Linked DNA regions of Homo sapiens: all the other regions are linked to region 1. The links are contacts of gene promoters, found by promoter capture Hi-C in blood cells and fetal thymus (Javierre and others, 2016). All regions are on one chromosome and are shown on one strand. The core of a region is centred on a gene start or on the middle of the fragment in contact, and the rest is flanking DNA. Distances in the headings are between cores, read along the strand shown. Region 1 holds the start of LINC02881 (long intergenic non-protein coding RNA 2881). Region 2 holds the start of ZNF32 (zinc finger protein 32). Region 3 overlaps ZNF32-AS3 (ZNF32 antisense RNA 3). Region 4 has its middle 39 kb from the start of ZNF32. Region 5 has its middle 59 kb from the start of ZNF32. Region 6 overlaps TMEM72-AS1 (TMEM72 antisense RNA 1). Region 7 has its middle 53 kb from the start of LINC02658.

Region 1 (4,206 bases), core at 1,148-3,647:
CCTGTGTGTATGTATGTGGGGCATGTGTGTGTAATGTGTGTGTATGCATGTGTGCCATGTGCGTTCTGGTTAGGAGTCTGTCTCTGGAAGGCGACAGAAGGACAATAAGATGCATTTTCACTCCAGGCTGGCAGGTCCTGGTGGGGACTGGGCTGAGAGGACTGAAATGACACAGCCTTGCCTTGCTCCCAGGCCCCACAGAGGCATCCTTTCAGAAATGGCAAGCGCCGCCCCTCAGGATGGGGAGTGTACTGAGGCGGAGGTATTATGACGCATTGCCCAGGAACTGATTACAGCCTTTCTGAAAATATCAGAACAAACCAAAGTACTTTTTTTCTCTCACTCAACAACAATCAACACAGAAGACTTCTGTGACCAAATGTGTGGGTTTTCTCCCCACCACAAGCAAGAAGGCAGTTCTACATCGGACAATTCCAACATCGACACCTTCTACCTGGAGGTGGCCTCACACCCCACAAGCCCAAGCCTCATGTCCCAAGCCTGCCCTCCACTTCCAATGCCAATGGCAAGGTGGTCTTACCTGTGCTTCTGACCCACTGGCGTTCCCACGAATCAATGTTCCCAGGACGCCTCCTAACACTTGAATAATTCGCTAGAGCAGCTCACAGAGCTCAGGGAAAGGCCTACTTACATTTACTATAAAGGATGTTACAGAGGAGAGAGACACAGAGATGCCTGGGGCAAGACATATGAGGAGGGCGAGAAGCTTCCATGCCCTCCTGGGGCTGTCGAACTAAAACGAAGAAGCTGAAAGTTTTGCTCCAAATGCCATTGTTTATCCATTTTTGACCACCTGATCTGTTCCATTAGCTTCAAAAGATGCCTTTTCATTTGTTTCGTTTTGCCTTCGATGGCCTTCCGCCTGCCGCAAGCAACCCTCTAGAATATGGGCCTGTGCTTGGCTTTTCTACACAAACATGAGCAGCCTTCAATTACTGGGGGACATTCATTTCCTCCTTCCAACTAGAGAGCGAGGAGTGTCCCGGGGAGAGTGGGTCCTTGAGCTCCTCTGGGCCTTGCTTGGGACTTGGTCCAGGAGGTTATGGGAAGAAACTGGTTTAGAAGCTGACCTCATGGGTTCGCTATTCTTATGTAACACTTAGGAAGAGCAGAGACCCACGCGATTCAGTCCCAGAGCAATGTTGCGGTCAAGAGAACACAGTCCAGCTACCAACAGTTATTTCAAAATAATTCAAGCTCTTTGTTTATATTTCTGAAAGAAAGAAAGAAAAAAAAAGGGTGGCCCAGCTGGAAACTCGGCTTTAAGTCCCCTTTCAGGGGGCCCTCAGGTGGGCACCTGCTTGGAAACCTCTCCACCCCTCCAAACACCCTTTTCCTCTCTGAGTGTTCATTTGTTGATCCAGATTCTGAATAAATGAAGCCGTACAGAATCCACCTGGCAAAAATGGAAACTGCCTGGAGGCCAGGGCTGAGGGAAGGCCTGGAGCAGAGCCGGTGCGCGACCTCGCAGTGAGCAGGGAGGGCAGGCTGGGGACGTTCACCACCCAGAACGCCTCTGCTCCCCGCAACCCTGAGACTCCAGGCTCCCCTGTTCCTCCCTCCGGGAGACCCTGCCCGTCCTCCCCGCGGGGCTCCTTCGCAGTTCGGGGGAAGGGACGGGTTGCGTCCTCGGGACCTTTCTCTGCAGCCACAGCAGCGCATCCCAGCACCTCCTCCAGGAGCCCCGCCACCTCCTGCCACCCGGACTTTCCCCACAGCGCAGCGTCCCCTCGTCCTCTCAGGGCTGGAACAGCGGTACCCGCAGACAGTGCAAAAGGGAAGTCCCTGTTGCCTTCCCATGCAAACTGTAGGGCGCTTACAGCTGCTGGGAGAGGAAAGGAAAGAAGAAATACAGTGAGTGTGATATGGGTACAAAGAAACCAACACGGAGCTTCCGTGGGCCTAGAAAGGAGCCCCCAGGAGAAGTACACTGGGCCTGCGTCATCGCCTGCCTTCAGCGGGCTCCATCCTTCCCCAGGCCCCCCTCCCCACCCACCTCCCACCCGCGGTCCTCCCGAGGCCCCCCTCCCCGCCCCCCCTTCTCGCTTCCCCATCCCCCTCCCACCCGCGGCCCTCCCGAAGCCCCCCTCCCCACCTCCCCACCTCCATTCTTCGCCTCCCCAACCCCGCTCCGAGTCTCCCCGCCTCCCTATCCCGCCTCCCACCCGCGGCCCTCCCGACGCCCCCTTCACCTCCCCACTCCCGAGGCCCTCCTGAGGCCCCTGGGCTCCCGCTCCTCCGAGTTGCCTGCGGCCGAGTCCTGGCGCGGCCTGGGACTGCCTGTTGGGGGGAGGGGGTGGGGGGGGGTCGTTCCCAAAGAAGGGGAAGGAGGCCTTTCGTGAGCATCTGAGGAGTACATCCTCATTTTGTCTTCTCACTCTGTCCACCCAGAGCCTGTGACCCGGATCCAACCCGCGGCGCACAGACCCCGGCTCTGGGCACCCCTGGTGAGCGCCTTCTGCGCCAGAGCTCCGTACAGCACCAGCCCGCGCTCTCCCCCAGCTTCTGTTCATTTGCTGCAGTCCTGACGGGTCAGTTGCCTGAGCATCCATGCTGCCATCCATACAAACCCAGGCACGCAGAGATGTACATCCTTTACCCAGGGTGACACCATGTGGAGCTGAATCCAAGTCCGGGAGTCTGATGACCGTGTCTGGGCTCTGACCGCGCAGCCGTCTCACAGTGAAACAAATTGCGGACTGGCCTTGTCCTGAGTGGCCTTAGGAAGCTGCAGTGGCCTGCAGTCTCCTGGCCAGTCTGTAGAATTTGGCAAAGATGAGGCACCTTATAGCCTTACATGTTCTTATTTTTCTTTCCTTTTCTCTTCTTTATTTTCTTTTTTAAGGATTTGAATTAGTATATGTAAAGTGCTTAACGCAGGAGCTGGCAGAGAAAGTGGATACTCAGTAAATAACAGCAATTGTTAATTGTAAAAAGCATGCCACTTATCTGGTAAAATCCCCCATTCTAAGCACCCTGTTAAGTAGTTGGTAATTCCTCACTTGAAAGAAATTAAAAAGAATTTTTGTCAGTTTTTTAAAATATTGTTTTATTGTGATAAAATATTCATAACATAAATTTCACTCTTTTAATACTTTTTAAGTGTACAATGCAGATTAATAAGAGAAATGCATACAAATTTATTAACGTGTACACGGGAAAAATAAGGTGATTACCCAATATCCCATGAGGTCCAGATACTTATACAGCGTTTTTTCAGAGAGGAGGGTGGAAGGCGGAATGTAGGTGATTCTGTTGAGGGGCAATAAATTATTATTAAGGAGAATGAATGGGTCAAGAAACAGAGAGTTATTCGTAAATGGTTCTCTTTGAAAATTTAATAAGCTGGAGAAATGGATTATTTTTTTGAAAGCGTCTGTTCAGGTGTGGTCACGTGTTGGTTTTCTTTTCTGCAATAGATAATGAGATAAGAGGGAGGAGAAGGAAAAGTAATTGTTCTCTTTGGTGGGTCTGCAGGGTCTTCATGTAGATAAGGGAGAGGACTCTTCCAGCTTCTGTTGATCTTGAGGGACTTTAATTGAAAATACTCATACCAGGGAGCCATATTTTGGGGCCAAGTTCCCTGCGCTCCTTCAATCCTCCTGTTTGGAACTTCCCTAGAATTTCACATTATCAACAGCTGAATCAGTGATTATGGAGAGATTTGGGTTAGAGGAAAAGAAGGCAAAGAAGGGGAAAAAACAAATTGGGATAAGCAGAAAAGAAAAATAAATAAATATGTTGTCCCATATCTTCTTGAATCAGTCTCTTAGTCCTAAGAGTAGAAGCATTTGGTCAAACAGCTGTGTCCATTCTAGGAGGTGGCACTACAGAGGGGCTGGGCTTCTACAGCTGATGCAGGCAAGCTGGTCTTTAATAAGAGGCATTTCTATGGAAACAAAGAAAAACAAAGGTTTTTCTTAATGTCTGGAATAGTCCATAATAAACTAGTTTTTCTAGAGTCTCAGAAGTATCTTCAGATTGTAGTGGTAATCTTACAGATTTTCCTGGATTATAGTTTGAATTACGTGTTCATGTGAACTTCCTGAGTAGCCCATACATCAGCAGGCACAAAGGCTGTGTACATGTGAGTTGCTGTGCTGACTCCTCCTGAAGTTTATATCAAGTTGTCTAACTTTAGTTTGCAGGGCTTCAAGAAAAGCAGTTTTAAATTCTAGTGATTCC
Region 2 (4,206 bases), core at 735-3,234, 640 kb after region 1:
CCTTCCCTATGACAAGATTATAAGAAGATTAATCCATGTGTTCTTCTGGGCCTTTGTGGCTCTGTGTTTCCCATTTTACATTAATCCATCTGGAGGTTCTCTTGGCATGGGAGTTAGGTAAACATTCAACTCCCCGACCCCACCAATGTCTAGCCCTTGTCATAACACCATTTATTGAATTATCTGTCCTTCCCCTAATATTTTGAAATGCCTGCAAAGTGAGGAAATTGTTCTTTGGTAATTTTTCAAATCTACACTGCGGATGATTTCCCTTTCACCCTCACCCCACACCCTCCCTTTTGTTGAGTATTTGCCTTAAGATGCAGGTGGTGGGTGAGGATGTGCCCCATTTTGCAGCTGGGCAGTCTGTCTATGGAGGCTGGGGTCACATCAACCCCAATCCTAACAGCTTTCTCCCCTGCTTTGGGCCCTTCAATGTGTCCACTTTCCTGAGACGCCTTAAGGGAATTTATGCAGATCTATAAAAGTGACGATGGTCCCCCCTCACAGCCACCTTTTCCCACCAATGCTTTGTCATGTACCTTCACGGCAGGATCTGAAACTTGTCCTAGTGTCCACAGCCGGTCTTGACCTTAACAGAACCTATGTACCCTTGTGTGAAGCAGAGGCCGCAGCCTTAGGACTCTGAGCCTTGGCCTTTGCTGTGTGCCGCCCTCCACCCCTTTCTCAGACTTGGGAGGAGTGAGGAGAGGAGCCACCTGGGGCAGTTCAGGAATGGGGAGCTTCAGGACAGTTTGCACCACACACTCTGGGACTTAGCTGTGCAACACCCCGACCCCCATGTGAGGAAGGTGGTGTTTGTTTGCTCCACCAGACTGTCAGCTCCTCCCTAGGAGCACGGAGTGTGTCTTGCTCACATTCGTATCCCCAGTGTCAGCACTTAAAATGGATTCAACGGATAAATGTTGAATGAAATTCAGAAATGATGTGCAATAGTAAAAGCTAACATTTAGGAATCAACTTATTACTTACAGACACCTTTGCATATTGAGTGAAATTAAGTTGTTTGATTTAACAAATCTGTGGCTTTGGGGTAGAGAACAAGAACATAGCAAGAGGAAGCATTCTTTATTAGTCCTTCACGAAAGAGGATGGACAGACACATCTACGGAGAGGGGCTCCAGAGGCAGGGACCCAGAGATACACCCGGCCAGGCAGAACAGCTCCAGGATGTGGCCCCGATCCTGGAAAAGTGCGTTTAAAAGAGGCTTAAGGCATATCAGACAGCCTGGCCAACATGGTAAAACCTTCATCTCTACTAAAAATACAAAAAAATTAGCCAGGCATGGTGGCACAGACCTGTAGTCCCAGCTACTTGGGAGGCTGGGGCAGGAGAATCACTTGAGCCCAGAAGGCGGAGGTTGCAGTGAGGCGACACCGTGCCACTGCACTCAAGCCTGGGAGACAGAGTGAAGGAAAAAAAAAAACAGGCATTATTAGAGAGGCTTTATCTCCTACGTGTTCAAAAGCAACCATGCTCCTCCCAGTATCTCAGGACGACTGGACTGCCTGTGTTCCTGTTGCTCTTCACAGAAGCTCCATGAAAGCGGGCTTCGCTTTTGTTCATGCAGCCAGAGGCTCAACACATGACCTCGAAGCCGCCAAGGCTTTATCAAACGGATTTCTCCCAAAAACTTCGTTTCCTTCCGCGACGCCCTGCAAGAACCCTGTATTCCTGAGTCCCTGGCTCAGCGTCTGCTACCCCGATGCTGTCAATCAGATCCTGCTAATCTGAGCGGCCGTGGCTCCGTCCCGGCTCCGCGTCCGCTGACAGGTCACCGCTGTGAGTCTCCGGATTACCAGTCCAAACGGGACGGCTTGAGGTCCCCGCGCCCTAGGGACCTGCGGGGCCCGAGCGCAGGGCGCGCCAGAGAACTACATTTCCCACAGAGCTCTTGGGAAGCCGGGGCCGCCGAGACCCACGGCCCGGCGGGCGGGCTCGCGGGGAGACTCCTGGGAGTTGTAGTCCATTCCGCCGGCGCCGGCGCTGGCGCTGCTGCGGGCTCGGCGCCGGCCTTTGTCTGCGGGCACGCGCCGCTGCGGTGAGTGAGGCCGCTGGCCGGGTCAGAGCGCCGGGGCAAGGCGGGGCTGCGCCATCAGACCGCTGTCCCGGGCCCTCCGTGTGGCCGCCTTATGCCAGCGGCCGCCAAGGAAATGAGCAGGCCTGGCCGGCCCGGGCCCCGAGGGAGGCCAGCCGCGAGCGGAGAGGTCGGCGGTCCGCAGAGCAGGGTCCCGTGGACCGGAGAGCGGGATGCCGAGGTTCAGGACGCAGGGCGGGCCCGGTGCCCGGGGCCCGGGGCCTGAGGCGGGAGGGCAGCGTCTGCGGAGAGGAGCAGGGCCCATGGCGTCGGGGCGTGGGAGGGGGAGGCCGCGGCAGGCTCACCCGGCCTCCGTGCGGGCTTCAGCGAGTGCGGGAAGCCGGTGCCGGCCTTCCGGGGTGGGAGGAGAGGCAGCCCCTGCGGGGGAGAGTAGGAAGCCAGGCAGCGTGTGGGAAACCACGCTACCCACAAGCTCCTAAACCTGAAACTGGCCCCAGGACATTTTCCAGACCGCCAAGTGTACCCCTCTTCTCATCCGCCCTCCAGAGGACGCCGGATTTTAGATCTTAAGTCTGGTGGTCTCGTCTGATACTCCTCTTGTTTGGTTCTTTCCTTCTCATTGTCCTACCTGATAGGACAGTGTTAGTAACCTGTTTAATAAGTGGGGAAGCAGAGTCAGGGCTGCTGGGTTACTCGCCCAAGATCATATCCTGGGGGAGCCACGGCAAGAAGCCAAGACTCACGGACTACTTCTAAGCTTTTTCCAAAGGATATAGTAGCCTTTCTAATAGGAAAATCAATGTTTTTAATTATAAAGCCACTTTTACAAAATCTTGGGGAAACTGCTTCCTCAGACCTGTGATCTAGGGAGAAAAATATGACAATTTCTCCCTTACTAATCACGGAGGTCCCTGATAGGCGGCGGAGTTGTAACTTGAAGACCTCACAGCAGGTGGAGAGGCAGAGCTGTGAATTCTACTCTAATTTCTGGAATCCCCGGCGACAGAGTCCAACCCCAGGCAGCAGGCGCCATGTACCCCAGGGACTTTTAATGTGTGTGCAGCTGTTGAGCAAGAATACCTTGAACTTCCAAATGATGTGCTGGCATGCTGGTAGGGAATTCCTTTGCAGCTTGTGTTCCAAGTTGGAAGTGAGTCCTCCAAATAAAAATTTAAATGATTCTCCTGGTCATCACAGCATGTAGCAGAATGTGCAGTTGTCAAGAAGAACCAGGTGCTTAGGTTGACAAAACAAAGAATGGTAGCATCATACTATTATTTCATTAAATCAGAAGGCCAGCATTTTGATAGGACAAATTAGAGGGAAACAAGGAGTATGCATTGAACCACTGCATTTCTTAAAAGTATAAGAATTCAGTAATTAGGATCCTGAAGTAAGAAGAAATATTTTTTTTAAAAAATAGATCATGTGGGCCAGGTGTAGTAGCTCATGCCTACATGTCTTGGGAGGCCGAGGCAGGAGGGTCACTTCAGGCCAAGAGTTGGAGACCAGCCTGGGCAGGATAATGAGACCCGATCTCTACAAAAAAAAGTTAAAATAATTTTTAAAAATTAGCCAGGCTTGGTGGTGCTTACCTGTAGTCCTAGTTATTTGGGAGGCTGAAGTGGGAGGATCCGTTGAGTCCAGGAGTTCAAAGTCACAGCAAGCTGTAATTGAGTCACTGTACTCCAGCCTGGGCAACAGAGCAAAATCTTGACTCAGAATTTTAAAAAAATTAAAAAATAATTTAGAGCACATACAAGAGGATTCCTAGGATCTGAAAGAGCACTTCAATCTGGTCAAACTCTCTTCCTTTCTGTTCAATTTTATAAGCATTCTGACCAGCTCTTTAGTGATTAGGAACTAGACAACTGTCTAATGTAAGAGCATACATTTTGGATCCAGAAAGTCTTGGATTTGAACCTTTGCTCCACTTTGACTCCTTATTTTCTGTGGGTTTCTGGGCAAGTTACTTAACCTAGTTGGAGTGCCTTGGGCTTGGAGTCCAGAGTAGGTCTTTCTTTTCCAAGAATTGACAAGTGTTTACACTTGGTCAGAACTGGTATTCTTGTATCTTCAAGAGCAAGAGAAAGGCGAGTCTGGGTCTGGAGCCTCCTAAGAATTGTTCAGTGGTAACAAATGGACT
Region 3 (4,206 bases), core at 732-3,231, 630 kb after region 1:
AGACCAAAGATTGGAAAGGCAATGAAGTAGAGCGACCCCGGAGCTGGTGTAGTCCTCACCCGCAGTGCGTGCAGACACATGGCACTGCAAGCTACAGGCACGGCTTCTCTATATCTAGAATTGTGTATGTGTGTCCATGTGTGTCTGTGTCTCTCTGTGTACATCCACGTATGTGTGTCTGGGTCTGTGTGTGTGTCTGTGTGTCTCTGTGTGCATCCATGCGTGTCCGTGTCTGCGTGTCTGTGTGTGTGTGTCTCTGCATATCTGTGTGTGTCTATGTGTGTCTGTGCCCTCCAGGCCGGGTAGGGGCAGGAAGAGTTGGGAGAGGAAGCCTGATACAGGCCCAGGCCCCAGGCCCTGCTCACTCCCCTCAGCTCCTTGGGCTGAGTGCAGTGGGCTTGAGGGTGGATGTGCAGTGGCCTCCTTCCCGAAGTCTGAGGCCTTGGTCTAGGGCTGAGGTTGAAGGACAGCCTGGATGGCACAATACCAAGGCTCTTGGAGAGGCTGTGTCACCCGCCTCAGGGGTGCAGGTGGTTTGGGCACATTTGGCACCCACAGCAGCCCCATCTTCCCTGAAAGGCTGAGGAGGGAGGGCAGCCAGAAGTTCCATGGGGACCCCGGTGGACTTGAAAGCTGGACAACCCAGGCGAATCTGATCGCTGGAGTCGGAGGTGCGGAGGCTGCAGTGAGCCGTGATCGCTCCACTGCACTCCAGCCTGGTCGACAGAGCAGAACCTTGTCTCTAAAACAATTAATTAACATGACTGAGAAGTGACTAACTTGGCAGAATTCACCAAGAAGGGGTCGACTGCTCTCTATCAAGCATGAAATAGGGGCTAGACTAGAATTACAGAACATAATGGGAGTTAGGTTTTTTTCGTGGGCGTCCTACTGGGAACTCTGCACCCACGGCCAGGCCTCCTGCCGCGTGCGAGTCTTCTGACAACCCCCTGCGCAAGCGGGGCCCCTCCGGCCGCCCCGGGACGTGCGTGTTCCTCCCGCTCGCGGCCCACCCCACTCGCGGGGCGTCCTCCCGCCAGCGGGACCTGCCGTAGGAGGGGAAGGGAAGGGAAGGGAAGAAGGCCGAGTCGCCTCCCCTTAGGTGTAATCTGTGCTGCTGACTTCAGAAGGATGTCTTCGGGTTGGAAGATTTAACTGGGAGCGAAAGTCAGTAAACAGCCCACGAAACAAAGGCCAAAGCTCTCCAGGCCCTTCCAAAGGTTTTTCGTATGATGAAGCCCCGCAGTGGGGAGGGCCCCGGAGCGCACCCGCCGCGCCCCTGCTGGGAGCTTCCCACTCTCCGCGGAGGCTGGGGGCAGTCCCGGCCAGCGTTTCCATCAGCGAAAAACACCCACTAGGCCACGTCTAAGTCGCGCTTGGAAATCGCTAAGTGCGGGACCCTGGCTCGGGCCAGTGGACACCCGGACTCCCCGCGCGCACAGCAGCCCGGCCGAGCCTGGGCGCCAAGCCTGGGCCGGGCTCCACATGGCTCCCCTTGGCCCCAGGGAACTGTCGCCCCTGGGTTCCGCCGCGGCTGTCCTCTCGGCCCTCTGCTGGCGCATCAGCACAGTGGTTTTCCGAGGCAGGGGTTGGGTCCAGCCTGTGCTGCTTCTGAGCCGCAGGAAGTCGCTGAGACCAGCGTAAGGAGGAAACCCCAAAACCTCTAACTGGACAGGAGAACTCCTGAGGAACCTTCCGAGAGGAGGGGCCGCAGCTGAAGCCGGCAGGCAGAGACGGAGAGAAATTTGACGTCGTCATAATCAGCACCAATACATATATACATAAATACTTGGAAAACCACCCAATGTTAAATTTCAAATTAGAAACGTCCTAAATGTCCAACAGCAGGGGAATGGCTAAGTAAAGTATAATACCTAGCTAGAACAGATGGTACCAGCCAGTCTAAAAGGAGGGTTCAGAGTTTGCTGTAATTTTGGAAATTGTAATTAATACCCATTTAACTGAGGAGATAATTTTTATTAACTAACATGATCTCATTTATAGCTTTAAAATGTGCCTAAAAATAGCAATTGTCATGGTGATTTTATTTGTTTGATAGAATGGGTGACAATTCATATATGAATGAACAAGTTACCCCAAGAAGACAAACAGGTTAGAGTAACCTTGTGCAAAAAAAAAAAAAAAACTCCATCTGCTTCCGAAGGAGGCGTGAGGTTGCCTGTGTGGTGCCTGCCTTCTTGAACGTGGTGCAGAAGAGCTGGGGCTCTGCCCGGCAGTGCCCACTTCCTCTGTAACAGGCAGGATGATGTCTGCTGAGGAAAGAGCTGTGGCCTGAGGAGGGGACAGCGGATTCGTGAAAGTAGAGCCCAGGGAGTGAAGGAGGGATGGGATGGGGGATGGTTAGGGGACAGGGAGTCCAGAATCAGAAGCGTGAACCCCGGGGCCCGGGCCACTTGGGCTGGTGATGCAGCCTCCCAGCTTGGCAGCAGGAGGTGAGCCCTTGACTATGGCCCCCATGAGGTCCCCTTCTCTCAGGAGGGTAGTAATGGTCCCTGCTGCTGTGATTTGAATACTCCTCCCTTCAAAACTCATGTTGAAACCTAATCCTCAATATGGCAGTATTGAGAGGTGGGGCCTTTAAGAGGTGACTGGGTGATGAAGGTTCTGCCCTCTTGAATAGGTTAGTCCATTCCTGGATTAATGGATTGATGAAGGGGTTGATGGATTAATGTGTTATGCAGTAGGACTGTTGGCTTATAAAAAGGGAAAAGAGACTTGAGATGGCACGCTCAGCCCCCTGCCATATGATGCCCTGAACCACCTCTGGGCTCTGCAGAGTCCCCACCAGCAAAAAAAAATGCTCACCAGATGCACCCACTCAACCTTGGACTTCCCAGCCCCCAGAACTGTGAGAAATACATTTCTTTTCTTTATAAATTACCCAGTTTCAGGTATTCTGTTATAAGCAACAGAAAACAGACTAAGACCCCTGCTTCCTAGAGCTGTAGAGAGGGGCCCACACCAGCATCCACAGAGCACTAGGAAGAGGGCCTCCATGGCATAGGCACCCAGGAAATAAGTGTCCGCTGAACCTGTGGATTCACAGGTGCCTCTGATGGACTTCGGGATGGGCTGGTGGTGCCGTTAAAGACCAGTGGCTGCCTCTGCTGTGTTCGTGTTGTCCACATCACTGCTGGGATGACAAACCTGCAGAGGCTCCATCTGCACACAGTTTTGATGAAGCTGGAAATTCTCCCTCTCTCCTTGCACCTCTTTCTCAGACTTTCTTCAGGGATTTTTATGGTTTTCTAAATTATTTTTGCATAAACACTATTTTAACAGCAAAGAATAAAAATTTTTAAGTGCAAACATTCACACTTCATCTCACTGCTCTCAAATTATCTTTTACATTTTCATATTTATCTCCTATCCCTTCTCATATTCAGACATAATTTGACATAGTGCTAATTATAGCATTAATTCATATTCTGTCTTTGCTGTTCAAAGGAGTTTAGGGTAGATTGGTGGAAAAGTCAGATTAAATGAACGTGAAGCAAGGTAGCATCAAGCTGCCCCTCTGCAATCATAAGCATCAGATCTTTGGGAGGATCAACAAGTGTTACATTCAGAATAGCCAGCTTCAAGAGCAAAGGCAAACCCAAATAAGCCATTTCTGAAAATATTATCCCAAGTGTATTACGTGTGTGTGTCAAAATTATGCAATGGTTTCATGCAAATTGTTGAGTAGTGAATGAGAACATTGCCGTTTAAAACAAACAAACAAAAAGCCCTAGATGAGTCCAAAACCACTTACTGGAAGGAATGAAGAATTAAAGAAAATCACTAAACTGCAATAAGAGAGGATATATTACTAACAAGTCTGATGAACCAAGTGAACTAGATGCAACCCCTCTCTCTTTCTCTCTCTCTCTCTCTGTCTACACACACACACACACACACACACACACACACACACTCCCATCAGGAAAAGAGAGTAAGTTAGCATCATTTTAAACCAGCATTTAAGATCACAAACTAAACAATAAAGAATAGAAACAGGTGGGAAATTGGACAGAGGGAAACCGAAAATCATTAAAGACTTACGCTTCCATAAAGGGCAGACCAAGTTTTGTGTGTTTGTTGCCAATTGTAGATATATTTTAAATGAGACTGATACTGTTTTAGGATAACAACCATAGGATCAAAACTGGTCTGATTTCCTGGCTGACCCTTAGTAAGAGATGG
Region 4 (4,206 bases), core at 686-3,185, 600 kb after region 1:
TGAGCCCGGCGGGAGACGAGAAGGGCGTTCACGACGAGGACCCCAAGGGGGAGAGCTTGCGGTTTGAGGGGCTAGGCCCACAGCGAAGGCCTGGCTTCTCTCTTCCCTAAAAAGTCCTTGTGCAAACGAGTCACTGACCACGGCGGAAAGGCTTGCCCGGCCGGGCTCTCGGCAGCCTGCACCGCGCACAAGGCGGAAGGCGTGAGGGCTCCAGACTCCGCCCTTCCCTCTTCCTCCCGCTCACAGCTCCGGGGCCACCTCGGGCCAGGGTCTGGCCCAGTGGACCTCGCCGGCTCACAGTGGTCACCAAGACACTCACGGCACCCGAGTCCTGCTCACCCCCAGCTTCCGTCCGCTTTCTGACGCTGTGTCGCACGCCCTCACCCCCTAACCACCCCCCGCACCCTGATGCCCTCCGTACCCTCTCTCCCATAGTCCTGGCCTCACTGGGAGCTTCAGGCCACTAATCTCACCTCCGTCCCCGGCTCCTCCTGTCCTGCCCCAGCTGGAACTCCATGGCCCTTTCCTTAAAGCGCTGCCTTGAAGACGCCCTGGCCCCCGGCTCAGCCCCTCACCCTCGCGTCCCTCCTGCTCTCCGCCTGCGCGCCGCCTCGCCTGGGCAGCTGGAGGTGTTTGGAGAGGGTGGCTTTGTGCATTATGACCCCGGCATCCTCAGGGGGACCCACGGCTGCTGGGAGCTAATCCCCCTGCAGCCCCGCACCTCCCACCCGCTCCACTCCTCAGCCGCCCAGCACCTCTAAGTATGACGGCCTTGTTTCTGTAGCCCTGAGAAGGCAGGGGGTCAGGGGATCTGCACAGGCCGCCTCCGACACCCCGCCCCCGTGTGCCATCTGCTGCCCCCGCGGCCCCTGGTCCTGCCCTAAGACCTTCCCAAGAGCTCTCTGGGCCAGGCCCCCCCAGGCCATCTACTCAGCCACCGGCCACGCCCTCACCTCCAACTTCCCCCTCCTCTAGGGTATTCCAGTGAAGGCCAAATCCAGTAGGAATTCTCCACGTTACCTTTCAAAGGCCCCCTCAGGACCCCACACCTCTTTCCCCAGCAACCTCCCCCTTTCCCAGCACCCGTTTCCGCACAGCTCCTATTTCTCCTTCACACCCTGACACATTCACCTTTACCCAGCACTCCACCAAAACCACTCAGACATGGTCAGTCTCTTTTCCGCCTCGCCCTGCTGCACTCTGAGGTACTGGCCACCGCTAAACATTCCCAGCTTGCAATGCTTTCCCACAGGAGGGTCTCAGCCTGCCCCTCGCTCCCCAGCCCCTCAAGCCTCCCTCGCAGCCCCTGTAGCCCAGGAGAGCCCAGCTTCAGGCACAGTCCCTGGCCCTCTGGAGGCACGCTCCTGCCCCGATGACTTCACCCACCCTCACTGTTTAAAGGCCACCTTTCCGCCCGTGAGTCACCAAGGAACAGCCCTCTCCCAGCCAGCTTCTCACACCAGCTCCACACTCGCCTTTCCTGTAGTCCACCAGACAGCTCCTCCCAAATGCCGAATCTTAAATTGAAAACACAAAGGGCAAACTCCTGATTCCCCCCCCCCCCCCATAAAAAAATAGTCCGCAGGCTGGGTGCGGGGGGGGCTCACGCCTGTAATCCCAGCACATTGGGAGGCCGAGGCAGGCAGATCACAAGGTCAAGAGATAGAGACCATCCTCGCCAACATGGTGAAACCCCATTTCTACTAAAAATACAAAAATTAGCTAGGCTTAGTGGCGCGTGCCTGTAATCCCATCTACTCGGGAGGATGAGGCAGGAGAATCGCTTGAACCCAGTAGGCGGAGGTTGCAGTGAGCCGAGATTGTGCCACTGCACTCCAGCCTGGGCGACAAAGCAAGACTCCTTCTCAAAAACAAAACAAACAAACAAACAAAAGCAGTCCGCTGGGAACTTCTTTGCCTTTCTTTCGGTTGCTTAGATCCAAATCTCATTTGTCTTCAACTACCCTGCTTCTCCTCCATCCAAACCCACTGTCAGCAAATCCTGCTGGACTTGCCTACAAGGAAAACCCAGAGAGCAGCCACTTCTCGTCACCTCCCTCACGCTCAGCCCAGGACACGCCACCACCGTCACTCCCAGAATCATGTCGCGTCCTCCCTCTTCTTCCTACTTCTGCCCTTACCGACCCCTCCAGGAATCTAGTCACAACACAGCAGCCAGAATGGTCTTGTTAAAGCATTAAGTGAAAGTCATGTCACTTCTTTGTTGAAAATCCCTCAATGGCTTTCCATCCCAGAGTCCTAAGATGTCCCAAATGGGCCTCCTCTGCTGAGCACTTCCCCTTCTCCACCCACAGTGGCCCCCCAAACTCCCCAGCTCAAGCCCTCCCCGCAATGCCACCACCATCTCCGGGTCTCCACAGCACCAACCCCCTGCTTGGAATGCAGCCCCCACGTCTCCCCGCTTGCTCCCTGATGCCTTCAGCTCTCTGCTCAGAGCTCCCTGCACAGCAGGCTCCTTCTGGCCACCTTATTTAAGACTGCAGCTCTCTCCCTCGTCCCCACCCCTTCTTTTCCTCTTCCTCACTCTAGGTTTCCAAAGCCCTGACCGCTTTCTCTCATTCGATGTGTCCTGACTTGCTTATTGTCTTTCATCCCTCACTAAACATGTGCTTCAAGCAAGCAGGGGTTTTTTTTTAAGAGACAGGGCCCCACTCTGTTGCCCAGACTGAAGTGCAGTGGCTTTTCACAGGTGTGATCATAGCCTGCAGCAGCTTCAACCTCCCAGGTTCAAGCAGTCCTCCCACCTCAGCTTCGCCAGTAGCTGGGATGACAGGCACGTGCCACCACCGTGCCCAGCTGATTTTCTTCACTGCTAGATGCCCCTTGCTAAGACCATTGAGGAGGATCTAGTGGATCTTTGCTCACTAAATGCATGAGGGAATCCTATATCTGCCTTCTCTCCGCTCTTTCCTGCCATTTCCATCACATTTTACTCTTGCTCTGCTCCGTAAGGATTTCTCCAGGTGGAGTCTTTCCTGCCTCAGATTTTAGAGTCCATTTTGGGACTCACCGCCTCTAGTGGGTTTTGCTTTAATTTGGGCCACTGTGGACCATTTCTATTTCTAAGAACACTCCCTTGTTCTCCCACTGCTGCTTTTTCATAATTGCCTACACTTGTGTTTAATCAAAGTTCTGGCCCCTTAATGCCCTCTGAGATGCAGGCTGAAATTGTGTAAACGTGTTTCTGCCTTCTATAGTAACTATTTGGGTCAGGGTATTTTGTGGTTCTAAGCACTGCTGGCTTGCTGACCCACCTGGACGTCTTCTGTGGCCCATCCACATTTGTGAATTTGATTAACTGCCATGGAGCTGGTGGGATTCTATCAACCGGATGTTGAGGCTCCCCTAGAGGCATCCACATGTAATTATTTGAGTTGAAGGAAAGGCCTCCCCACTGAGAGATGAGTGAGCCTTATACCTTACACCTTTCCTTCAGGGTGTTCAGCTAAGAGGCTGACCAGCAGAACAAGGCCCTCTCAGAAGGGAAGTAGGTGATCAACCACATGGGGTCCTCGGGGTGCACCCGCCTCGGCTAACAGGGGGCCAAGCTGAGCCCCGGGAAAAGCTGTGGCCTGCTGTTCTGTGTGTGCTCTGAAAGAGTTCCGGAAATCTTTTCCTTTATTCTCCCATAACTGCTTCCTGACCCACCTGTTCCTCCAGCCTCTGGACTTTAGATTTATTCAGTCAGATCTGTAATTATAACAAGAAGAGCTAAAATCATCCTGACATTTGCTGTATGCCAATATTGTTGTCAGGACTTTATAGAAATTAACTCATTTAGTTAGCTCATATCACCCCAATCAAGTAGTTACTATTGTTTTGCCAGTTTTGAGAGGAGGGAACTGAACTGCAGAGAAGTGAAGACCTGCCCGTGGTCAAGCAGCTGCTAAGGGGCGTCCCTGAGACCACAGCTCACTCACCAGTGGGGAGCGAGAAAAACAGAGGGCGAGCACATCTGAGACCTGCCGTGCTGGGCCTTTGGGAGTGTCTGTGAGCACATGAGCGTGTATGCAGTCAGGAGTCACCTGGGGAGCTGGCCCGGGGCTCTCACATGAAAGCCCAACCAGCCACAGCCACAGTCGCCCTGCTATTCCTATCAAGACCTTGCATAACAAGAAATTGTTCACATGCCAAGGCTAGAAAGGCAACAGATTCTGCAAAGCCAAGCTCTCATTGACCTTATAA
Region 5 (4,206 bases), core at 1,064-3,563, 580 kb after region 1:
GGCGTAGTCCCATATCCTAGTATTTACCGGGCTAGTCACATATCCTTATACTTACCAGGCTAGTCCCACATCCTTATACTTACCGGGCTAGTCCCACATCCTAGTACTTACCAGGCTAGACCCACATCCTAGTACTTACCGGGCTAGTCCCACATCCTAGCATTTACCAGGCTAGTCCCACATCCTAGTACTTACTAGGCTAGTCCCATATCCTTGTACTTACTGGGCTAGTCCCACATCCTTGTACTTACCGGCGTAGTCCCATATCCTAGTACTTACCGGGCTAGTCACATATCCTTATACTTACCGGGCTAGTCCCACATCCTTATACTTACCGGGCTAGTCCCACATCCTAGTACTTACCAGGCTAGACCCACATCCTAGTACTTACCGGGCTAGTCACATATCCTAGCATTTACCAGGCTAGTCCCACATCCTAGTACTTACTAGGCTAGTCCCATATCCTTGTACTTACTGGGCTAGTCCCACATCCTTGTACTTACCGGCGTAGTCCCATATCCTAGTACTTACCGGGCTAGTCACATATCCTTATACTTACCGGGCTAGTCCCACATCCTTATACTTACCGGGCTAGTCCCACATCCTAGTACTTACCAGGCTAGACCCACATCCTAGTACTTACCGGGCTAGTCACATATCCTTATACTTACCAGTCTAGTCCCACATCCTTATACTTACCGGGCTAGTCCCACATCCTAGTACTTACCAGGCTAGACCCACATCCTAGTACTTACCGGGCTAGTCCCACATCCTAGCATTTACCAGGCTAGTCCCACATCCTAGTACTTACCAGGCTAGACCCACATCCTAGTACTTACCGGGCTAGTCACATATCCTTATACTTACCAGGCTAGTCCCACATCCTTATACTTACCAGGCTAGTCCCACATCCTTATACTTACCGGGCTAGTCCCACATCCTAGTACTTACCAGGCTAGACCCACATCCTAGTACTTACCGGGCTAGTCCCACATCCTAGCATTTACCAGGCTAGTCCCACATCCTAGTACTTACCAGGCTAGACCCACATCCTAGTACTTACCGGGCTAGTCCCACATCCTAGTACTTACCAGGCTAGACCCACATCCTAGTACTTACCGGGCTAGTCCCACATCCTAGTACTTACCAGGCTAGACCCACATCCTAGTACTTACCGGGCTAGTCCCACATCCTAACACTTACCGGGCTAGTCCCACATCCTAGTACTTACCGGGCTAGTCCCACATCCGTGTACTTACTGGGCTAGTCCCACATACTAGTACTTACCAGGCTAGTCCCACATCCTTGTACTTACCAGGCTAGTCCCACATCCTTGTACTTACCAGGCTAGTCCCATATCCTTGAACTTACTTAGTGCCTGGAACATCACTTTCTTAATTTTTTCAAATAAGATGACAATACCTCCCATGCTTAATTCACAAGACTGTAATGAGAATCACATGAGATAATGTATGTCAGCAAAATATTGCTGAAAATACTCTCCACTCAATTATGTTGCGAACCTGAAAATGCTCTTTAAAAATAATAAAATCTACTTTTTTAAAAAAGTGGCCCTTGGAGAGGTTAGCCAGTTTTCTTTCCCAGTCTCTGGACTGATTCTGTGGAGAGAGCATGGGAATGACTCAGTGGTGCAGCCCTCAGTGTGTCCCTCTGCCAGGCGGGAAGGGACTCCTCAGGCCCCACAAGGGGCATTACAGGCTGCTGCCCTTCTGCCTGCTGATAACCCAAAAATTAAGGATATTTGGGACACAGACTGCACAAAGGAAATGCTGGCTAATGAGAAACACAAATGTAAACACCATAAATCAAAGTGCCCTCTCTAAGTGGATGAGTGCAGTTAGGAGGAGTAAGGTCCAGGCCAGAGCCAGACGAGGCCCGACCTGGGGGGGACACTTCTCACACCAGGGACAGTGACCACATGGGGGGAGAGAGGTGTCCCGGCACAGGTAGGGCCACCACCCACTGTGGCCATAACTGAGTGAGGTCAGACTCAGAAAAATGTGAATGTCTATACAATAGGGTCAGCAGACTTTATTCACTGGACAAATAATTTCTTCATAATCAGGATAATTTTATCCATCACCTCTTAAGGGTAAGACATGAATGGTTTCCTTGTACCACTAGAGGAAATTCTGCTCAGAAACCAAGTGCTTGTTAGGGAAACTATTTGATTAAGTATTCTGGGTGAATATAATACTGATCTCAAACAACTGTAGCTGAAGTCATCACAAGTACAATGGTCATTGTAAGCATAAGAATCAGGGGCATATTTTATTTCTAGGTAAAAACTATTTTTAAGATACTTCATAAATCACTGGCAAGGTCAACCACACTAAACATTCCAGAACACACAGGGGAAATCTCCGTGGGCGTGCCCAGACCTCTGGGCTGCAGCGATGCATTGTTCTGAGGCTTCCTGCACGGAGCTGTCCCCGTCGTCAGCAAGTCTGCTGGGCCCAGAGCAGTGCCTGCGGGAGGCTTACTGTGACCCAGCTGTACAGGTGCAGCAGACACCATGGTCCACACCGCCAGTCCCCACACAGTGCGGTGATCACTACGAGGCACACCTACTGCAGGCCCGCTGTCTTCATGCAGCAAATAAGACCACAGCAGCCTATAGAGCTGTTGAGAACATGAAGTGGAGTAACAAAGACCGAGCACTTTACACCCGGCCTGTCATTCGGCCAGTGTTCATCATTTCACAGATAGGGATAATCACTTTTTATCCCAGGCCATGCTGATCACCTTACCCAGGTGCATTTAGTGGTAGGCTCAACCCCAAGCCTACTGCTGAATACACATGAATGCATGCATGAATAATGAATCGCGAATGAGCGAAGAGTTCCCTATTTTTACAGACGAGGATAGCAAGAATCTGAAAAGGCAATATAATGAAAATTGTGACTGGAATTCACAATTTCTTAACCAGGAAAGCAGGTTAAATGGGAGACCACTAAATGGCAGGAGGCCGTCATGCTTTTCTGTCCTCCCACTTTCTAGGTGTGAGAATACAGATGTGATGGCTGGAGGTCCAGCAGCCACCACAGACTCTGAGTTGACCTTGAGGACAGAAGTTGTGTTCTAAAGCTGACAAAAACATAAAGATAGGTGGTGTCAGTGTCCCTCATATCTGTGGGGCAACTCTGTTGTCCCTAAGCACACAACCCACTTTTCACTAATAGAGGCCAGAACATGTCTATCTGATTCTAATCATTGTTATGTTTGGTCTCCATTACTAGAAGCCAAATACATTTCTAACTGAAAAACAAATATTCTGGGCTGGGCGCAGTGGCTCATGCTTATAATCCCAGCACTTTGGGAGGCCGAGGCGGGCGGATCATCTGAGGTTGGGGGTTCAAGAGCAGCCTGGCCAACATGGTGAAACCCTGCCTTTACTAAAAATAGAAAAATTACCTGGGCGTGGTGGCAGATGCCTGTAATCCCAGCTACTTGGGAGGCTGAGGCAGGAGAATCGTTTGAATCCGGGAGGTGGAGGCTGCAGTGAGCCAAGATCACGCCACTGCACTCCAGCCTGGGCGATAGGTCTCATTTCAAAGAAAAAAAAAATACATATATATATATATATATTCTATGTCATCCCCATCTCTCCTTACAAACTGCTGGCCCCTTCCCCGCCTACTTCGCTGGGCCCCACTCCTCTCCCTTCTCTGAATACTGGATCAACACAGGGCTCAGGCCTGGGCCCTCCTCAAATCCCACAGCTAATTCCCCTCACTCCTCCCAAACCTCTTTATCTCCCACTCGCCAATCTCAGAACATGTTGTTCAGGCCAAAAGGCTCAGAATCTTCCTGAATTCCTCCCTCAGGCCATGAGCACAGCCCACATCAGCCCACAGCCCCCTGCCCTGGGCCCCGGCACGTGCCAGCCCTTACAGCCTGCCCCACACGCAGCCTCAGAGGGTCACTTTTCCACTCGTACCCTTCAACGGTGTCCTGTGGCCCTAAGGACAAAATCCATGTGCCCACCATGGTGGCCAGGGCTCTCTGGTCAGCCTTTGCCTGCCTCTCTGCCCACATATATGCCTTCTGGCCCCACATCAGCTTCCTTTCAATCAGGGCCTTTGCCCTCACCCCTGCTGCCTGGAAACCCCTCCCTGAGGGTGAGTGGCAGCCTCACACTGCGACTGCTGTCACCTCCTGGGCATCCCCTGACCACTGTGAGCA
Region 6 (4,206 bases), core at 609-3,108, 580 kb before region 1:
TTGCACTGGTTCCCCTGTCAGGTCAGGCCTTGGCCCACCACCTGTGCCTTCCATGTCCTCCTTCCTGTACACTCACGCACCCCTCCCCTGGTAACCATGTTGCCTTTACACCCATGAGCCCTGCTGTGGTGCCCTTGCCAGGCACAGTGAGAAACACAAGGGTGACCTGTAGACGAACTGGGCTGATATGGGTGGATCAAGGCCCAGAGCTGTTGTATAGACGCGTCAGAAATACATGCGTATGAGAAGGGAGAGTAATGAGAAGAACCTCATTCACTGGCGAGTGGGGAGGAAGGTGCTGGCAAGAGCCTGGTATGGAGCTCAGACTAGAGGTGGACCAGCCTTGTCTTTAGAGCTGTATGAAAGCTCGAAAGCTGCCCCCACCCCAACTCATTCACCCAGTCACAAAGATAGGTGACCTGTCATCAGATGGCTTCTGTTTCCCGCTAACAGTCTAGTAACACAGATGAGCCCATTCTCCTTAGCACCATTCTCTCCACCACCAACACTTACTGGTCACCTCTGGATACTGGAAGGAAGAGGTGAACTGGAAAGACAAGACCACTCTCTGCCCTCAAGATGGGGCTGTGTCTAGCTAAGTGAGATGTGTGTGTGTGTGTGTGTGTGTGTGTGTGTGTGTATACACATATATGTATAAAGACAACCATATTTATTTGTCTATATGGGACTACATCTCTGCATAAACACTACCATATGCAGGCTCTGAGGTCAAAGTTCATCCTTACCTCAGCTAGACAGGAGGATCCAGCATTTTCTAATTAATAAAATACCTCACAGCTTTCCTTATCCTGCTGTAGTTGGACATGGAATTCTTTTGGTTATTCTGCTTAGGAAAAGTAGCCTCTGCATTAAATGCCAAGCTCTGTAGGGGAGCAAAGCCTATGCTTTGCTTAACACATAGAATGGAATTGCATTAATGTGAGAAAGCATTTCGAAAATGATGGAGTCTGTAGAGATGCTAGGAATTGTTTTCATGATCATTACCTGAAGCTTCATCCTAAAATGTGCTGACTCTTAATTTAAGTATATGCAACCCAAAGTTATCTAGGCCTGTCAGCCTCAGCCTTAAGCTCTAGTCTTAGCACTGTGATGCATGAAGAGAAATGTAATTTCTACTCCAAAAGTGTTTTAAGATAACATAAGATTGGCCGAGCGCAGTGGCTCACGCCTGTAATCCCAGCACTTTGGGAGGCAGAGGCAGGAGGATAACGAGGTCAGGAGATCGAGACCATCCTGGCTAACATGATGAAACTCTGTCTCTACTAAAAATACAAAAAAAAAAAAAAAAAAATTAGCCGGGCATGGTGGCAGGAACCTGTAGTCCCAGCTACTCAGGAGGCTGAGGCAGGAGAATGGCGTGAACTTGGGAGGCGGAACTTGCAGTGAGCCGAGATCGCACCACTGCATTCCAGCCTGGGTGACAGAGTGAGACTCTGTCTCAAAAAAAAAAAGAAAAAAAAAAGATAACATAAGACTTTAATTAAGTCTTTGGAGGGCTGGCATATCAGGGGTGCGACACACAGCAGAAGATTTCCAAAAATCCTCACACATGTGCGCCACTGTCCTTGTCAGCATGGCCTTCTCCTCACCCTTTCATGGGCCACAGTCCCTCTTCTGGCCTCCCCTAAAAGCTCTGGCAGGCCCTCTTTCATGACCACTTCCCATCTACCTCTTCTTATAGCTCTCCTGGTGCCCTGAAGTGACACCTTAGCACAGGGTGAGCCTCCTTGGCATCCTTCAACACCACAAACAATTCAGGACCAGGCTTCCACTGACAGGTGGGGAAAGGTGCTGAGTACTTTATGCCATATTGTTGCCTTTGTGACATACTCTATAAAAGCCACTCAAGTTGGGTCTAAAGTCTTCTTTGATTTGCATGAACTGTAGGTATTAACAGTGGGGGAAGCTGCACCTTAATAACTCTTGGTGAGGGGTCCCCTGTGGAGTCCACCAGGCATGGGAATTTAGCCTCACTTACTGATGAGGAACTGAAGAGTCAGAGGGGCGATTTGACTTGCCCAGATCACAGAGCTCTTAAGGGGGCACAGTCTGGTCTTAAACTCAGTTCTTCTGGCTTCGAGTTGAAGGTCATGTCCACAAACTCCCAGAGCAAGAACTGAGTCTCAACTCTGACCTTTGGATTGTGCGTGCTACACCAGGAATCACAGCTTCACAGGGAATAAATGTAGACTTGTTTCATTGCACAAACTGGTGGCATTTCTACCAGTCATAGTGACTGAGAGATGAGCAGTGCTTTGGCACTCTAACTGGGTGACCCTCATCTCCCTTGTGCCACCTGAGCCCACCCAGGGGAACACTCCCATCCAGCTATCCTGGTCAGGGCTGCATTGAAACCACTGGTTCCTCCAGGACCCAAAGCCGCTTTTCTGGATGGAATGTAAATCATTCCTACCTGGGGCCCTGCCAAGCCTTGGCAGGATTCAATGTGACATTCAGTTCCAGATTAATCCAAGTTGGAACAGTTTTGCTGAAGGTTTAGAGACCTTCAATTTATTTATCTTCTGAAACCCTGAAACAGCTTTAATAACATAGCTTTGGATTTCTGCAAGTGAGATGTATGGGCTCAATAAGTATTATTTTTACAACAGATATCCATAATCATTATAGTAACAAAGGCACCTTCCTATATTTCTTTAAAGTTTGTTTCTTTCTTTTAAGCTTTGTCCCAGGAATGGGGTCTGTAATTCAGGGACCTGTAGAAGTTCACAGTGTGAGAGGAATGAAGTGTCCAATCTGCAATCTGAATCTTCCCTATGAAATTTCCACCTGGTGCCCTCCAGCGCAGATTCTCGCACCCACAGTCCTGCCTTACAGGGCAGACCATTTCCTCTCTGACAGTACTACCTGTCTGAATGTTCTGCTTCAAACTGAGTCAAGATATGTGAACCCTGGGTAGAAGAATTATCAGGTCTGGAGGGAGCACAAGCAAACTATCCCATTTTATGGACGTGGAAACCGAGGCCTGAGGGAGAGACGCACCAGGAATCAGGAGATCTGGCTCTGATCAGCTGTACAAATTGAGAATTGTGACCTGACCTTGTCCAACCCAAGTGGCCCAACTCCTAATTCTGTGAGTGACATGTCTCTGTTACTTTGGAATATTGATTGAAGGTATGTGATTACAACTTTTTATTATAATATTCTGAGACAATTTTTTATTATAATCTTATGAGAAGCTAAGGACTGGGTGGATATTTTCCTGGGTTAAAAGTAAAGTTTTTCTTGTTGAAAACTTAGACATTCAGAAAATTTTCAAATTGTTTTTATTATATAGAAACTGTAGATTAGAAACATATTGTATGATGATTGTTCATGATGCTTCAGCGTAATCACTTCAGCAATGTAGCAATGACGCCATTCAGGGGCGTTTTCAAAGTGTGGCCTTGGGCCAGCACCATCGGCATCTCAGGAAACTCTCACAGGGACAGCCCTGCTCTACTGGATCAGAAGCTCTGGGGCTGGGACCCAGCAATCCATGCTTTAACAAGCCCGTCAGGGGCTTCCTATTCATGCTGAAGTCTGAGACCCACTGTTACGGAATATTGTCTTCCTGATCTTGATAGTGTGATGGTAAATTTTATGTGTCAATGTGGCTAGGATATGCTGCCCAGTTGATTGGTCAAACACTAGTCTAGAAGTTGCTGTGAAGGTATTTTTTAAACATTTAAATCAGTAGACTTTGAGAGAAGCAGATTACCCTTCATCATTTGGGTAGGCCTCATCTAATCAGCTGAAGGCATTAAGAGAAATGACCGAGGTCCCATGGGGAGGAAGGAATTCTGCCTCCAGACTGTCCTGGAACTCAAGACTGCAACATCAACTCCTGCCAGCTTTTCCAGCCTGCCAGCTTACTTTGAAAATTGCCAGCCCCCATGATTGTGTGAGCCAATTCCTAATCTCTTCTCATATATATATATATATATATATATATATATATATATATATATATATATGTATGTATACATATACCGTATGGCTCTGTTTTTCTGGAGAACTCTGATAAATACAAACAGCATTAGAATCCAATCTCAGCAATTTCTCATTTAGCCCAAGCTCAGCTGCACAATCCTTCTCAGTGCAAGACTCCAGACAACTGCTTTCAATAGGCAGGAGCCAGCATAGGCATGCCACTTAATAGCTGTCCAGGACTTAAGATGGTAACTG
Region 7 (4,206 bases), core at 1,021-3,520, 570 kb after region 1:
TGTATATTTTCAATTGACCTACCTTTAACTTCACTGATTCTTTTACCAGCCCAAATATCCCATTCAGCCTCTCTAGTGAACTTTTTTCAATTGAGTTATTATTTTCATCGCTAGAATTTCTATTGTTTTTTTGTATAATTCTATCTCTTGTTGATATTCTCTATTTGATGAAACATTATTCTCATACTTTCCTTTAGTTCTTTAGATATGGTTTCCTTAGTTCTTTATATTTAAAATAGCTTCGGTATTATTTAGTAAGGACAATGTATAGACTTCCTCAAGGACAGTTTCTGTTGACTGCTTTGTACCCCTGTACACGGACCATATTTTCTTGTTTCTTTGAATGTTGAAACTGGACATTTCAAATGATGTAATGTGGCTGCTCTGAAATTCAGGTTCTCTCCACTCCCTGGGATTTCTTTTTGTTGCCACTTATTGTTGTTCTTGCTGCTGCTGTTTGTTTGTTTTAGTGACTTTCCTGAATTAATATTGTAGACTCTGCCTTTTTGTCATAAATGACCGCAGAAGTCACTGCTCAGTTAGCTCAGTGGGCAGCTCACAATTGTGCATAGATTTTCTTAACTGTCTGAAGCCAGTAAGTCTCCCAGTCGTTGCCAAGGGATTGTGAGTACGTTTTGGGAAATGCCTTCTACACTCAGCCAAGTAGTTGACAGCTCTGCCTTAGGCTCTCCTTTTTGCTCTTCAGGACCTCAATATCAGCCAGAAGTGAGAACTTAGAGCTTCTCAGCTCTTTCCTGAACACATGCACGGCCCTGGGCATTTGCACAACCCTGTTCATGCAAGTGGCCTTCCAGGTTCCTAGGATGTGTCAGAGTTTTTCAAAGCCTCCTTTGGACATCTCAGTCTCTAGCTTTTCCCTTTGGGTTTTTATGGTCAGCTTGTCATTTGCCCCAACTATTATCATCACCTCAGGCAGCAGTGATGCTAAACCATCACCACTGATTGTTTTTGACAAATGTCACTGAGGAAAAGGTTATTTGCACTGGGCAAGCTCTGAGTCAGACCAAATAAAGACAACTCTTATGAGTGGGGAATGACTAGCAGGTCAAACAATGGCAGTTCTCTGGGAATGGGTCTTTGGAGAAGCTGCAGCCCCATTCTGGCCCCTCCACTGGCTGCTGGGCTGCTGTCTTTTACCTCTGCTGTGGGCTGTTGGCTTCCAAGGCTACTGCCAAGCTGTACAGGGAAGACAGAAATAGGGCTCGTTAAAATGTTACAAAGCTTGCTATTCTTACCACAACTTAGTGTTTTTCTTGAGTAAGTGCTTTCCAGATTGTGACAAGCTTTGTTAGTTTCCAGAGTTCTGAAAAAGTTAATTTTCACAATTCTTAGCAGTATTATTGCTAGTTTTATAAAGAGGAGGAGAGGGGTTTGAGATCCTTGCTCCACCATCCCCACTGACATCCTCTTCACATGCTGGTAGAACTATATTAGAGTTATAATTTTTGTTTTAGTTGTCAAACAAACTAGAAAACTTAGGAGAAGAAAAGACTATTGGGCTTAACCATATTTTTGTTCATCCTGTTCTTGCTTTCTTCCTGATGTTCTCAGATTTTTCTTATCATTTCCTGTTTAGAGAACTTCCTATAGCCAATCTTTTAGGGTAGGTCTGCTGGCAACAAATTATCTTAGCTTTCCTTCATCTTTAATGTTTTGATTTTCCCTTCATTCGTGAAGGATATTTTCACTGAATATAAGATTCTGGGTTGACAGTTCTCTTTTTCAGCACTTGTTATGCCACTTCTTTCTAGTGTTGGAGGTTTGATCTTGATTAATCTATTGTCATTTGAACTGTTTTTCCCTGTGGGTAAGGAGGTGTTTTTCTCTCTTGTTGCTTTCAAGACTTTTCTGTCTTTAGTTTTCAGAAGTTTGACTGGGGTGTGCCTTGGTGTGGATCTCTTTGGGTTTATCCTGTTTGGGGTTCACTCAACTTCTGGAGTTTTGTAGGTTTCTGGACTTCACCAAATTTTGGAAGTTTTCAACCATTATTTCTTGGAGTACTTTTTCAGTATCTTCTTCCTCCTCTCCAGGTGGTAATTATTCCATTTTTAATATTCTATCAGATTACTTTGTATCAGTCTATAAATATGCTGCTAGATAAGTATAGTTAATTATTTAGAATTTTTATCTATAGTTGTAAGTGAAAATGGTCTTGTTATAGGTTTGGAATTATGGTTGCAGTAGCCTTATAAAACAAATTGTGGAACTTTGTAACTTTTTCTATGATCTAAAACAGCTTAAAACAGAAATGACATACTATAATTAGCTCCTCTCAAAATCTATTTGAATTTGGTTCTTTTTTTGAGACAGAGTCTTGCTCAGTTGCCCAGGATGGAGTGCAGTGGAGTGATCTTGGCTCACTGCAGGCTCTGCCTCCCGGATTCATGCCATTCTCCTGCCTCAGCCTCCCGAGTAGCTCGGACTACAGGCACCCACCACCACGCCCAGCTAAATTTTTTTGTATTTTTAATAGAGACAGGGTTTCACCATGTTAGCCAGGATGGTCTTGATCTCCTGACCTCGTGATCTGCCTGCCTCAGCCTCCCAAAGTGCTGGGATCACAGGTGTGAGCCACCGCACCTGGCCCGAATTGTTTTTAATTAAAGCTATCTAAGTACTTTTCTCACCTCTTCTGTCACTTGTGACAGATCTGTTTAGTATTCTCCTCCTTCTTAGGTTAATTTTGGTGATTATCTTAGTCTATTCAGACTGCTTTGTCAAAATCTCATTAAGTGGGTAGCTTATAAACAACAGGAATTTGTTTCTCACAGCTCTGGAGGCTGGGAAGTCCAAGATCAAGGAAGCAGCAGATTTGGTGTCTGGTGAAAGCCTGCCTTCTGGTTTGTAGACAGCACTTTTTTGCTGTGTCCTCACATGATGAATGGGGTAAGGCGTCTCTCTTGGGCCTCTTCTGTAAGGGCACTAACCCCATTCATGAGAGCTCCACTCCCATGACCTAGTCATCCCCTAAAGAGCTCACCTTCAAATACCATCACCTTGGGGTTAGGACTTCAATGTATGAATTTGGGAGGGGACACAAACATTCAGACCATAGCAGTGGTTTACATTTTTCCTAGAAAATCATCTATTTCTTATATAATTTCTGTTCATATTTGATGTCATTGAGTTACATGTTATACTACTTATAATTTTTAATATCTCTGTTATATCTGTAGTTAGTTTTGCTTTCTCTCCTTTTCCTTAATCAAGCTTGTTGGGTATTTGTAAATTTAATTGGTCTTTTGAAAGAATCAGCTTTTGTATATTTAATTTGTCTTCCGTAAAAACTGTTTTTGGTTTTATTTATTACTGCTACTATTTTAATGTCATTAATTCTAACTTTCATCTTTGTCAATTGCCTCCTTCTACATTGTTCATTTCTTTGGTTCTTCACTTGGGTTTATGATGTATAAAACCAACTTCTTTTAGCTCCTCAGAGTCTCACTCCATGTGTGATTCAGTTTTCTGGGCTTCAAACCACCCAGGACATTGCTTAGCAAAGCAGGTGCAGCAAGAATGAGTGGATGAAATTATTGACATTGGATCTCATGGTACTGAAAGTCTCCTCATCTATAGCCACATGGCTGGGGTGCCAAAGAACTTTATGAGATGTGTATCTTTGCCTTCAGAGAGGTTAATTTCCCAAGAGTTGGGGTTGGAGGAGAAAAAGCCTGAAAGCCAAAGAATGCAAGGTCACATTAAAGTGTCATCAGAGGAGTAGAGGCTGCAAATCATTTCAGTTCTGCTGGGTCCAACCCAGTTCCTTCTTAGCTTCTCGTCTTGCATTCTGGTAACAAATGTGAGGACATCCAAGAAGAAGGCTATTTTACTCAAAATCCTGGTGCTACAAACAAGAATATTGCATACACTTGTCTAGTGGATAGAGCTTGTGACTTAAGCCCTCTCACTCAGGCATTGTAAAGGATGCTAGAGACACCGCAGGTACATTTTGGAGCTTGAAATTAATCAAAAGATCAACAACATCTCAGCCTTTTTGGAGCACCTTGCAAAATATACAAGTTTACAATATTCTGCTAACTCCCTCTAAACTCCTAAAAGCTCGACAGTGATTTTGTTCTCCCAATTTCCTGAAACCATCGTACCCACTGGATTGGACAACCTCAGCTGGTGGCCATGTGTGCTATAAGAATCATCCATTTTGGACATTAGATTTGGAGAATATTT

What was found. The method cuts DNA at HindIII sites, captures the fragments that hold promoters and counts their contacts. A CHiCAGO score of 5 or more calls a contact.
Region 2: a contact is called between the fragment with the promoter of ZNF32 here and the fragment with the promoter of LINC02881 in region 1, in 3 of 17 cell types (endothelial precursors, megakaryocytes and M0 macrophages). The highest score is 7.5, in endothelial precursors.
Region 3: a fragment that was not itself captured here is called in contact with the fragment with the promoter of LINC02881 in region 1 in 10 of 17 cell types (erythroblasts, megakaryocytes, endothelial precursors and 7 more); the score reaches 9.9 in erythroblasts.
Region 4: a fragment that was not itself captured here is called in contact with the fragment with the promoter of LINC02881 in region 1 in 13 of 17 cell types (M0 macrophages, M2 macrophages, M1 macrophages and 10 more); the score reaches 13.6 in M0 macrophages.
Region 5: a contact is called between a fragment that was not itself captured here and the fragment with the promoter of LINC02881 in region 1, in 12 of 17 cell types (M0 macrophages, M1 macrophages, monocytes and 9 more). The highest score is 12.5, in M0 macrophages.
Region 6: a contact is called between a fragment that was not itself captured here and the fragment with the promoter of LINC02881 in region 1, in 1 of 17 cell types (endothelial precursors). The highest score is 7.7, in endothelial precursors.
Region 7: a contact is called between a fragment that was not itself captured here and the fragment with the promoter of LINC02881 in region 1, in 11 of 17 cell types (M2 macrophages, total CD4 T cells, M0 macrophages and 8 more). The highest score is 10.3, in M2 macrophages.

The regions. Positions count from the first base shown.
Region 1 is chr10:44,290,941-44,295,146 of GRCh38, reverse strand. It overlaps LINC02881 (long intergenic non-protein coding RNA 2881), which reads right to left and starts at 2,397. Exons shown (of 3, transcript NR_164139.1): 1 at 2,214-2,397; 2 at 1,658-1,846; 3 at 498-1,234. LOC124902544 (a long non-coding RNA gene) reads left to right here. Exons shown (of 3, transcript XR_007062369.1): 3 at 193-1,233. The HindIII fragment of the contact is 4,267 bases long and covers 730-4,206 here.
Region 2 is chr10:43,646,659-43,650,864 of GRCh38, reverse strand. ZNF32 (zinc finger protein 32) reads left to right here and starts at 1,984. Exons shown (of 3, transcript NM_006973.3): 1 at 1,984-2,063. The region is part of intron 1 of ZNF32-AS3 (ZNF32 antisense RNA 3); the gene reads right to left. ZNF32-AS2 (ZNF32 antisense RNA 2) reads right to left here. Exons shown (of 3, transcript NR_047558.1): 2 at 3,656-3,753; 3 at 2,846-3,296. RefSeq lists a silencer at 1,959-2,478 and an enhancer at 4,030-4,206. The HindIII fragment of the contact is 4,172 bases long and covers 1-2,819 here.
Region 3 is chr10:43,664,756-43,668,961 of GRCh38, reverse strand. All of the region lies in intron 1 of ZNF32-AS3 (ZNF32 antisense RNA 3), which reads right to left. Among named protein-coding and RNA genes, the nearest start is that of ZNF32, 18 kb to the right of the region's middle. RefSeq lists a silencer at 1,465-1,644. The HindIII fragment of the contact is 8,678 bases long and covers 1-4,206 here.
Region 4 is chr10:43,685,763-43,689,968 of GRCh38, reverse strand. No RefSeq gene overlaps it. Among named protein-coding and RNA genes, the nearest start is that of ZNF32, 39 kb to the right of the region's middle. The HindIII fragment of the contact is 9,619 bases long and covers 1-4,206 here.
Region 5 is chr10:43,706,166-43,710,371 of GRCh38, reverse strand. No RefSeq gene overlaps it. Among named protein-coding and RNA genes, the nearest start is that of ZNF32, 59 kb to the right of the region's middle. The HindIII fragment of the contact is 5,182 bases long and covers 1-4,206 here.
Region 6 is chr10:44,872,582-44,876,787 of GRCh38, reverse strand. The region is part of intron 2 of TMEM72-AS1 (TMEM72 antisense RNA 1); the gene reads left to right. Among named protein-coding and RNA genes, the nearest start is that of TMEM72, 37 kb to the left of the region's middle. The HindIII fragment of the contact is 1,689 bases long and covers 1,014-2,702 here.
Region 7 is chr10:43,723,442-43,727,647 of GRCh38, reverse strand. No RefSeq gene overlaps it. Among named protein-coding and RNA genes, the nearest start is that of LINC02658, 53 kb to the left of the region's middle. The HindIII fragment of the contact is 1,927 bases long and covers 1,307-3,233 here.